3 separate regions of the Homo sapiens genome follow, and regions 1 and 3 are each linked to region 2. The links are contacts of gene promoters, found by promoter capture Hi-C in human tissues and cell types (Jung and others, 2019). All regions are on one chromosome and are shown on one strand. The core of a region is centred on a gene start or on the middle of the fragment in contact, and the rest is flanking DNA. Distances in the headings are between cores, read along the strand shown.

The links. Contacts are between HindIII fragments. The study calls those that stand out against the background at their distance.
Region 1: a fragment that was not itself captured here is called in contact with the fragment with the promoter of NRG3 in region 2 in 2 of the 25 tissues and cell types used here (dorsolateral prefrontal cortex and hippocampus).
Region 3: a fragment that was not itself captured here is called in contact with the fragment with the promoter of NRG3 in region 2 in 3 of the 25 tissues and cell types used here (dorsolateral prefrontal cortex, heart left ventricle and hippocampus).

What each region holds. Positions count from the first base shown.
Region 1 is chr10:82,263,211-82,266,332 of GRCh38, reverse strand. The region is part of intron 1 of NRG3 (neuregulin 3); the gene reads right to left. Among named protein-coding and RNA genes, the nearest start is that of NRG3-AS1, 32 kb to the right of the region's middle. The HindIII fragment of the contact is 4,021 bases long and covers 1-3,122 here.
Region 2 is chr10:81,873,652-81,876,760 of GRCh38, reverse strand. It overlaps NRG3 (neuregulin 3), which reads right to left and starts at 1,567. Exons shown (of 9, transcript NM_001010848.4): 1 at 598-1,567. The coding sequence starts at 1,420. LOC124902549 (a long non-coding RNA gene) reads left to right here and starts at 2,243. Exons shown (of 2, transcript XR_007062377.1): 1 at 2,243-2,412. RefSeq lists an enhancer at 1-618. The HindIII fragment of the contact is 10,350 bases long and covers 1-3,109 here.
Region 3 is chr10:82,148,859-82,151,938 of GRCh38, reverse strand. All of the region lies in intron 1 of NRG3 (neuregulin 3), which reads right to left. Among named protein-coding and RNA genes, the nearest start is that of NRG3-AS1, 83 kb to the left of the region's middle. The HindIII fragment of the contact is 4,871 bases long and covers 1-3,080 here.

The DNA of each region.
Region 1 (3,122 bases), core at 622-3,121, 390 kb before region 2:
CCAACTCCGCTTTACCTTTCAAAATGGACTAAGACCATTACTCCAATGGGATTATAATAGAACACACCCTCCCCGACTGCCCCTTGAACCACCATAACTGAGACCAATAGGCTCAATCCCATTAGACCCTGTATTTTATCAATCCCGGCAGGGAACACAAGTGTTCCAGATGAACTGTATTCATTGGTCCCATAAGCATACACTATTTTGAAGATCCCTTAGTGGGACTCAAGCTCCTACATCTTCTATACTCCCCAAACCCTCTGGCACTCAAGGCATGCCATCATGAAAATCTCATCTCTGAATATGTCCTTCCCTTCTTGAAGAGAAAATCAATTGGCGCCTAAGAACTTTTCTCTGAAGCCCTATTAAAGGATGAATTTTGTTCTCTATTCCTTTAATTCTCCACATGCCACAAGTCTTGGAGTTTGTATAGGGACAATTCATGCTCCGAATTGTTACTTCCAAGACATTTTCCTTCTTTTCTTCTTCATACCCTAAAATGCAAAACTTCACTATCAATGAATGCTTCTGGTTTCCATCATTTACAGTCTTCTGATAGCCTCCCCACCACCATCCTCTGATGATATTGGCATCTGGCATTGATTTTAACATAAGGCTACTGCCATAATTGTTGGTGATGTCAGTAAGCATGTAGATGGTCCAACCATGAAAATGGTTTCTCAGTTTGTTAACCAGCCATTCTCCAATGTTCATGTCCTATATTTTACCTTAATTAATCATACTTCAGAACTCATCGTTATCTATTATTACGCCACATCCAAAAATAACAATTTCAGACACTTTACTACCTTGTAACTTTCAAGCTTTCTTACCCTAGTATATTCACTGTCACTTTAGTTGTTTCTTGACCTCTTGGGATCTCCAATCCATTGACTATAATACATTACAGTGCCATCGTCCATAACCTTCCTCGTGCTCTCATTTTCTTTCTTAGCTGATTTAGATTTCATTTCCCATCATTATAATACCTTACATAAATCCAGTTGAACATCCCCACACTTCTGTCCTTCCATTGTCAAAATCCCAAGTTGGGTTTCAGCAGATCTCTGTCACCTCCTTACATGTATCATGATGCAGATAAAAACGAATGACTCTGCTGACTGGTCTTACTATAAATTTATAATTAGAGCCCTCAAGTGAGTTCTTGGCACTGGCGGCCCCAATTTTGGTGGTTAATTTACTATCTTATTATCAAGGGTGACTTTCTCACACCTTTTATTCTCTCCCCACATCTCTGGCACTACATACACACACACCCCTCATTCTCACCTAGTTAACTTGCTGAGAGAACTTCCTTAGCCTTCTACCACCAAGTCAACCCACTTCACTTCATCTGTAGCAGAATATGCTATCTTGCCTCCTGATCAAGTGAAAGGCAAGACTTGTTTGTACTCACTGGCTCACTTCCCTCCCTTCTCTCTTTTGTACCCATTCCAGGCAGGCTTTTATTTCACAAAGCTCAAAGTCATTCTCCTTAAGTGTCCAACAGGCAATTCTCAGTTCTCATTTTACCTGACCTCTCAGTGGCACTTGTCATGATTGATCCCTCCATTCTTGAAATATTTTCCCGCCTTGGCCATTAGGATGTCCTCATTTTCTGATTTCTCTCCCTGCCTGTGGCTTCTTTCCCTGCTCCTTCATTGGCAACATTGTTAAATCTTCCTTTTCCCGACTTTTAAAGATGATGTGCCTCAAAGTTCAGTCATTCTTCCCTTTACTCCATGTACACATACGCCTTTGGTGAGCTTATCCAGTCTGTGGGTTTAAATAACATTTCCACAACAAGGATTATATGGTTTGGCTCTGTGTCCCCACCCAAATCTCACCTTCAATTGTAATAATCCCCATGTGTCAAGGGCAGGACCGGGTGGAGATAATTGAATCGGGCGGGGCGGGAGTGGGGGTCGCAGTTTCCCCCGGGCTGTTCTCATGATCACTAGTGAGTTCTGAGACCTAATGGTTTTATAAGGGGTTTCCCCCTTGCTCAGCACTCATTCTTTCTCCTGCCACCCTGTGAAGGGTGCCTTCGGCCATGATTGTAAATTTCCTGAGGCCCCCCAGCAATGTGGAACTGTGAGTCCATTAAACCTCTTTACTTTATAAATTACCCAGTCTCAGGTATGTCTTTATTAGCAATGTGAGAACGAACTAATACAAAGGCTCTACGTTTTTTAACTCCAGCCCCTATTTCTCCCCTGAGTTCCAGACTCACATATCCAATGCCTATGTGACATTTTCTCTTCGTTGCCCAGTAAGCATCAGTCATCACATCTGGGGAGATGATTTACCCACATGCCCAGGAAAAGCAAAATAACAACAACAAAAAAATAAACAAAGCCCCTCTGAGTTAACTTTGACTCATTTATTCTGCCACTCATCATGTGCAAACCATCAGTATATCCTAACTTTAACTTAAACTGGATTTTAAATATAAACCATCACTTTAAAAGCAACAACATTTGCTAATGGATGCATCACCTTTATTTAGCAAAAATTTTGGTGTTATCTGTATTTGGCTTGTGAATACTAGTGCTCTTGGAGTTTCTTATTGAAATAAATGGCTACATGTCATCCCTTGGGAAAGGGAAGGTTAAATTATACATCTCGACTATGGAAAAATTTATACAATTTTAGGTAAAGACGTAAATCCTGGAAAAACAGGTGTAAGTGTGTATATGAGTGTGTGTGTGTGGTGTGTGTGTATGTAGTATAAAAAGAAAAGATTATAGGTTATTCTTGAGTAGTCAGAGTAAAATGCTCTGCCAAATGTTATTTTGAACATTTTTACTATATCAGTTCAGCAAAATTAATGCTTATAAATGGTAGGAGCATAACTGAGAGAGAAAACCATTAGCTAAAGGCTATAATCTTAGCACACTGGAAGAAAATGATTTGGAGGATAAAAATGTTCAATAGAAAACTTAAAAGGTTTTAAAATGCTCCAAATCTCATTCAGAGTGCATGAACTTTGTGGATTTAGAGGCAAAAATCTCAGCCTTGTCTACCTTCTCTTGCCCATCCCTTGAGTAATTCAAGCCTAATTCAATCATCTCTATCTTGTATCCGTTTTTCTTTATTTTCTTCCCTCAGCCATCCAC
Region 2 (3,109 bases), core at 318-2,817:
AAGTCTCCCAGTGGCTTCTAATTAACCCTTTCTGGTTCCTGCCCAGGTCAGGGCTGCTGGAAGCGTCCTCAGCAACATTCTACCATTATCTCCATCAACTCGTCACCCCACACAAGGACATAACTTCCTTTTGTGGTTTATCGTCGGTCAATTTGCATGTGCTTTGCTTTCTTTCCTTCCTACCGGCGGGCGGAGAAGGGGCTCAGTGCCTTCGGGAAGGCCCTCTCTCCCTCCCTGGCCCTCTACTGGAGCGGGATCCGGCAGCTCGCCAGCAGGTCTGCAGTGAGGAGGGATCGCACTCGCGTTAACCCTTTGAAGGGAGTTGGGAGATCTGTTCTCACTTGGGACCCGCTAAAGTGGGGCCAGTGGAGCCTGACAATCTCCCTCCCGTTCCTACACGCCCCCACCCCCCCAGAACCAGAGCAGGCTGGCACCTTCTTCCCCGCTGGTGGCCAGTTTTAATCAGCTCTCACTCTGCCCCAAACCTGGGATGGGGGAGGGGGCTTGCTAGAAAACAGGCGGCGAGGGAAAAAGACAGCAGGAGGGCAGAAGGGAAACTCAGTAGTAAATCATAGTTGAGACACAGTGTTTACTTACGAAATTTGGGGCTGGTGCTAGTTTCTGGTGTGGTGGTGGTAGCGGAGGAGGAAGAAGAGGAAGAAGAGGAGGCAGCATCCTGAAAGGGAGACAGGGTCCAGGAGGGAGTAGAATCGTGAAGGTAGGAGGAGGTAGCGTATGCCGCAGTAGGCCAGGAGGGCATTGCCTGGGTACTTGGAGTTCCTGGCACCGGGGGTCGGGAGCCCAGCGTGCTGCTACTGAAGAACGGGGCCGTGGTGGACGGGACCGTCGCAGGGGCCGCAGTGTTCCGTGCTGTGGTGGAGCGCGGGCTGGCCCGGATGGGCACCCGGTGCCCGGGGAAGCGAGTGGGCGCCCGCGTGATGGTGGTCAGGCGAGTGCTAATCCGGTTGGGCGTCCTGGAGGAGGCGGCACCCCCGGCGGAGGGGGTGGCGGGGGACGTGGTGGAAGTGGTAGTGGTGGTGGTCTCCATGGCCTTGGGGAAAGAGCTGGGCTTGGAGAGGAAGAAGGGGTCCTGGCCCATCCCCTTGGAGTCCACTAGGTCGGTGGGCACGTACTCCTTGACGGAGCCCACCACGATCCATTTGAGAAGCATGAGGCTGAGCCCCAGGCCGATGAAGCCGATGAACAGAGGTACCACGCACAGCCACGTCTGCTGCCGGTTCCACACGATGCAGTCGCTACAGCGTAACTCCCGGGGGGGCTCGGCCGCCCCTTCGCCGCCGCCGTCCGGGCCCCCGCCCGCCGCTGCCGCCGCCGCAGCCGCCGCGGTGCCCTCCTCGGCCGAGGCGGCGGCTGCCGAAGCGGCACCAGGTGGCGAGGCAGCGGCCGCCCCTTCACTCATCCTAGGAGCCGGTCTTCACCTTCGCCCCCCCGAGGGCCGCGGCAGAGGCATGGGGCCGCGCGGGCCGGGCGCGGGCGCGGGCGCGGGCTCCGGCGGCGGCGGCGGGCTCGGGCGCAGGCAGCGGCCGCGGCGGCCGCATGCAAATCCGCTCCCTGCCCCCACGCCCCTCCCCCCGAGAGGCGGGCGGCGGGCGGGGAGGAGAGGAGCGGGGGAGGGGACGGGGCCGGGGAGGGGGCGGTAAGGAGCTCGGAAGAGGGGCGAGACGGGCCCCCGGCGCCTCCGGTCGGTCAGAGAGCGGCGGGGCGCGTCTGCAGCCCTCCAAGCCGCCTCCTGCGCGCCGGGTCCCCGCGCCCGCTGCTGCTGCTGCTGCCCGCCGCCTGCGTGCGCTCCAGGAGCGCCGACATCCTCGGGGCACCGCGCCCAGCCCGCTCCCTGGGGCGCCCGCTCGCGCCGCGCCTGGGCCTCGCGCCGCCTTCAGTGGCCCCGGCGGCCGGTCGCGGGGTGCCGGGTGCCCGCCACCCGCATTCCGACACAGAGGGCCTGCCTGGCCGCCGCGATCTTCGGCGGCTGCTCCGCGAGCCCGGGCGGTGAGGTGCACCTGTTCTTCAGCCGGCCCGCAGCCAACCCTCGGCCAGCACTCTTCTGGAGAGACCAATCCCAGCGCAGCGCGGAGGGCTAGCGGCCCGGCTCGCCTTGCTCCAGCCGTTCGCTGCTGCGCGCCGCTGCCGCCGCCGCCGGAGAGTCAAACTCCAGCGAACAGCGCCGCTGTCGCCGCCGCGAGCCAGGGGCTGGGGGCGCACCGGGCGCCCGCGGCGGGTGCGGTCTGACCCGCCTCCGAGGGACCCAACAAGCAGGCAGAGGATCGGAAATCACGCCCCGGCGCCCTGCCCGGTTGAGCGTGGGGGACGGAAGCGGGAGACTGCGTCGGGGGTCCCGGGGAACGCAGACCCCGGGCTGAGGGCGTCTCCAGACGGGCTCTGGCTGCCAGGCTGGTGCGTGTGTGTGTGCAGAATCGCCGCGGCGGGCTGGGATTCGGGCAGAGTAGCGCCTCCCACTAGCAGCTAATGCTGGTTTCTTAATGCACACAAGATAGATAAATGATCCAAGCAAACCCCCGTTTGCGGTGGGGTGGGGGGGCAAAAGCAGCTTCCGACCGATTGTGAGTCGTCTCCTGTACGGATCCAGTGGGGTCAGAGACTGACGCTGCTGGGCGAGGGGGCGGGGGCGGATGCGGGTGGGAGGGTGCCTGTGCCCTCCCCTGCCGGATGGCGGTGCGGCTGGATGGAAGGCCACCTTTGCCTGAGTTCCTGAGAGATGCAGGTGGAGCAGAAGACCTTTGTATAATCAGACCTGTCAGATATCTCCAAGCCATTTATGTGAACTTGCCTTAAAATATTGTCTTTACCTGTAAATGTACGCACAGGTACACACGTTACAAGGCAAGTGTTTGTGAGAGGTAAATATGAAAGGATTTGGGGTTGGACTCCCAAATTCCGTTACTGCTTTCTTCCCTTGGCTGGGGAGGCACCTGTGTACCTATTTCTCCAGCGCTGTGTGGTACCTGCCGAGGCAAGGGGCAAAGAGCCAGTGTTAGCATGACATATGCCGACAGTGCAAAACCTTGCTTGCCAACTCTCCCCAGATTTCCTGGTCTAAAGTGAAAACCGAAGAGGAGGGGTTTTTATTTAC
Region 3 (3,080 bases), core at 219-2,718, 280 kb before region 2:
CATGTACTATTACAATTCCCCTTATACATATGTGAAAGAGTGAGGTCAATAGAAATTCACTTATTTGTTCAAACTCCCTCGACAAGTGAGTAAGGATTGGGATCCAAGTCTTCTGAGCAGAGCCTATGCTGAAGCACTACGCTACCATGCTTTTTTTATGGGACAGTGATCATCACAGGTCAATAAAGACCACACAGAACTCATTCAGGTGCTTTGGGGAAGTAAGACAATAAGGGAAAAAACAAGGCTCAGTTTGCCTTCTTCATTCATCAAGACCAGAGAGAATAAAGCTTTATTAGATAAAGACCACAAATAATTTAAATGCTACTTACAAATTACAGACGACTAAGTGAGATGGGACATCCAACAAGATGACATCAAGGCAGAAACAGGATGAATAATGGAGACAAGAGAAGGACAGACAGAGGAAACCAGAAAAGGAGCAGAGCAGAGAGGTTCCGATTCACAGAAAGAGTCCTGATCCTCATCTCCCATCTGATTCTTTTTCATCCTCGTGTGCTCTGCTAGGAAAATTTCTGTACATAATAAGATTTCAATGATTAGAAAACAGGCATCTTTTCTTTCATGTACTGAAAAATTAAAAGTAAAACAACATTTCCAATCATTCCACCTGAAGACCATCCCAAATTAATTCTTAGTCATGCATTATTTCAGTTCAAACTCCTAGTCACTCCTGTGTGCCTGGCCCTGACACTGGTACTGCAGAAGGCTGAGCAAGACCCAGTCTGTGTGAGTCCAGCTTCCTCACCTCTATCCTCAGCCGTTCCTCTGTTCCTTTATATCCCTCTCTGGCTTCGCCCCTTTGCTAAGCTGAGTTTCTGTATTTGCTTTCTGAGCACTTCCTGCTTTGGACCCTTAGCATACATTTTTGCCAGATTTTGCACAAGGAGATTGAAAATCCTATCCAGGCTTTCTGTACATGACTGCTTTGTCATTTTTCTTTTTTCCTAACAAGGCTCAAGTTTTGTCAAGATTTCCTTTTCTAAAATAGAACTACTTTACAGCACAAGTAGTTTTGTATTTTTCTTTTACCTATCCATATCATTATTTTGATGTAAACAATGTTTAAAAGGACACAGAAAATGTCCTAGGCTTAGAAAAAGTCTCGGTTGTGTGTAATCAAAGAGTAGCTCTAAAAGACTGGAAATTGTGACAGGCATAGTATTGGTCATCAGCAGAAGCAGATGAAAGACGGATATTTTACTGCTTGATGAAGTCACTGGAATGTCCAGGCGCCCTCTGCTCTGGAGTTTGTGGTGTCCGTTCTTGCAGTTTACAAGAGTCAACCTCTAGCAGCCCCTGGGCTTTGTTTGTTGGTTTGTTTATCTGTTTTAGACTGAGAGTTTTTTGCTTTGTTTTTGACTTTTTTTTTTTTTTTTTTTTTTTTGTGTGTGCTCTTTTTGCTTTGTTAATCAGCAAGGTTTTGAAAATCAGGAGATGTCAATTTAAACAAACAAACCAATGAAAAGTAGTCAAGACTGGAGGTGGGGATTGGGCGGAGTTGGCGGGGGGATGCTCTTCAGCAATGAGAGACTGTGCCAAGCTGGTGTAGCCACCAAAGGGGTGGGCTGGGTAGAAGCTGTCTCCTATCAGCTGGGCAGGAGCGCCCCCACCAGGTACACTGACATGTTTGCAACACCTGCCAGCTCCTGGGCACTTACCGGTCTTCAACACCTGCAAATGGGTGATATGTAAAATATGTGCAGAGAGCTGGCAGTGGCCTAGCCTCTGATCCATCAAATCAGACACCTTCTGAAGGGTCCCGGAGGCTCCTGGAGGTGGCTCCTGTTAATCCTTTAGTTGCTGGACAGTAGGGTGGTCCAGGGGTACCAGGGCTGGAATAGATTGATGGGAACAGCAGGGAGTCCAGATGGGTGCACTCCCCCCTGAAAATCAGCCCTGCCTATAAACCACAGCGGAGTTCCATCTCGTCGGGATTCCTGGCACAGCTGGCCCAGGGTGGAGATTTCCTCATTTAAGGACTGTAGTTAAAGGTCGGCTTATTCTATTCTATTCTAGTCTAGATCCACCCCAAGAAAACTGAATACAAGGTAAAATTAATGAGTGAGTCAGAACTGGGCTGTGGACAAGGGCTTTCTCATATCTGCACCAAGACAGTGTGTGAAACATGTCATAAAAACACTGTGGAAATATGCAGTCCATTTATTAGTCTGACATTCTACTGGGAGGCTTTAGAAAAAAAAAAAAAACAGAGCTTTCTAAATTCCCAGCATCCACTACAAGCCTGTTAATATCTTATTCAGAAAGTATTAGGCTCTGTTCCCATGCCACACATTTCTATGGAGGAACTTTATGAGAAAACAAAGACAAAAGTCTGGTTAGGTTTCAAAAATATTTGCTTCATTTTAATTGATTTTTCTACATCCAAGAAACGTGAAAAGCTCCGATTACAAGTACATAAAAACTGCTCACAGGCAATAAAACACATGAAAAAATGTCCAAAATCAACATCTGGAAATGTTGCAAAGCAATTAAATTTTAAATAATGGCAAAAACAAGAGTGAGGGCATCCTAGCTAATCAATTATATTAACTTTTTAATTCTTATTTATGGCATGACTTTGTCAATATAATCAGTTACTGGGTAGCTCCCTAATTAGGAATTTATAATGTATTAAGTGTTATTTTTATAACTGGATTCATGTAATAGAAACCCAAACAACTGGGGATAATAACTTGATAGTCTGCCACTTTCAGGTTCAAGCTGCATTTTAATTATATTTTAAGACCTCAAACTATCATTCATTGGGGTCAAATCTAGGCAACTGAATTATTTTTTATAATTCATATTTTATTAGGTAGGCTTGATGCTTAAAAAAAAAACAAAAACAAAAACAAAAACAAAAAAACAGGAATGTGAATTGTTTGGGTGAGGTCTGCATTCCTCAGTTGATTCCGGGTAGACAGTCTCTGCTGTCTTCCCTATCTGACTCATCTCACCCCCACCTGTGGTGGTTCACTCATTTATATTGCCAGTTTGGCTCCCTGAAATTCAGTGAGTGATAGGCAAGCAGGACAGGCAAGCAAGAAGTGTGGATG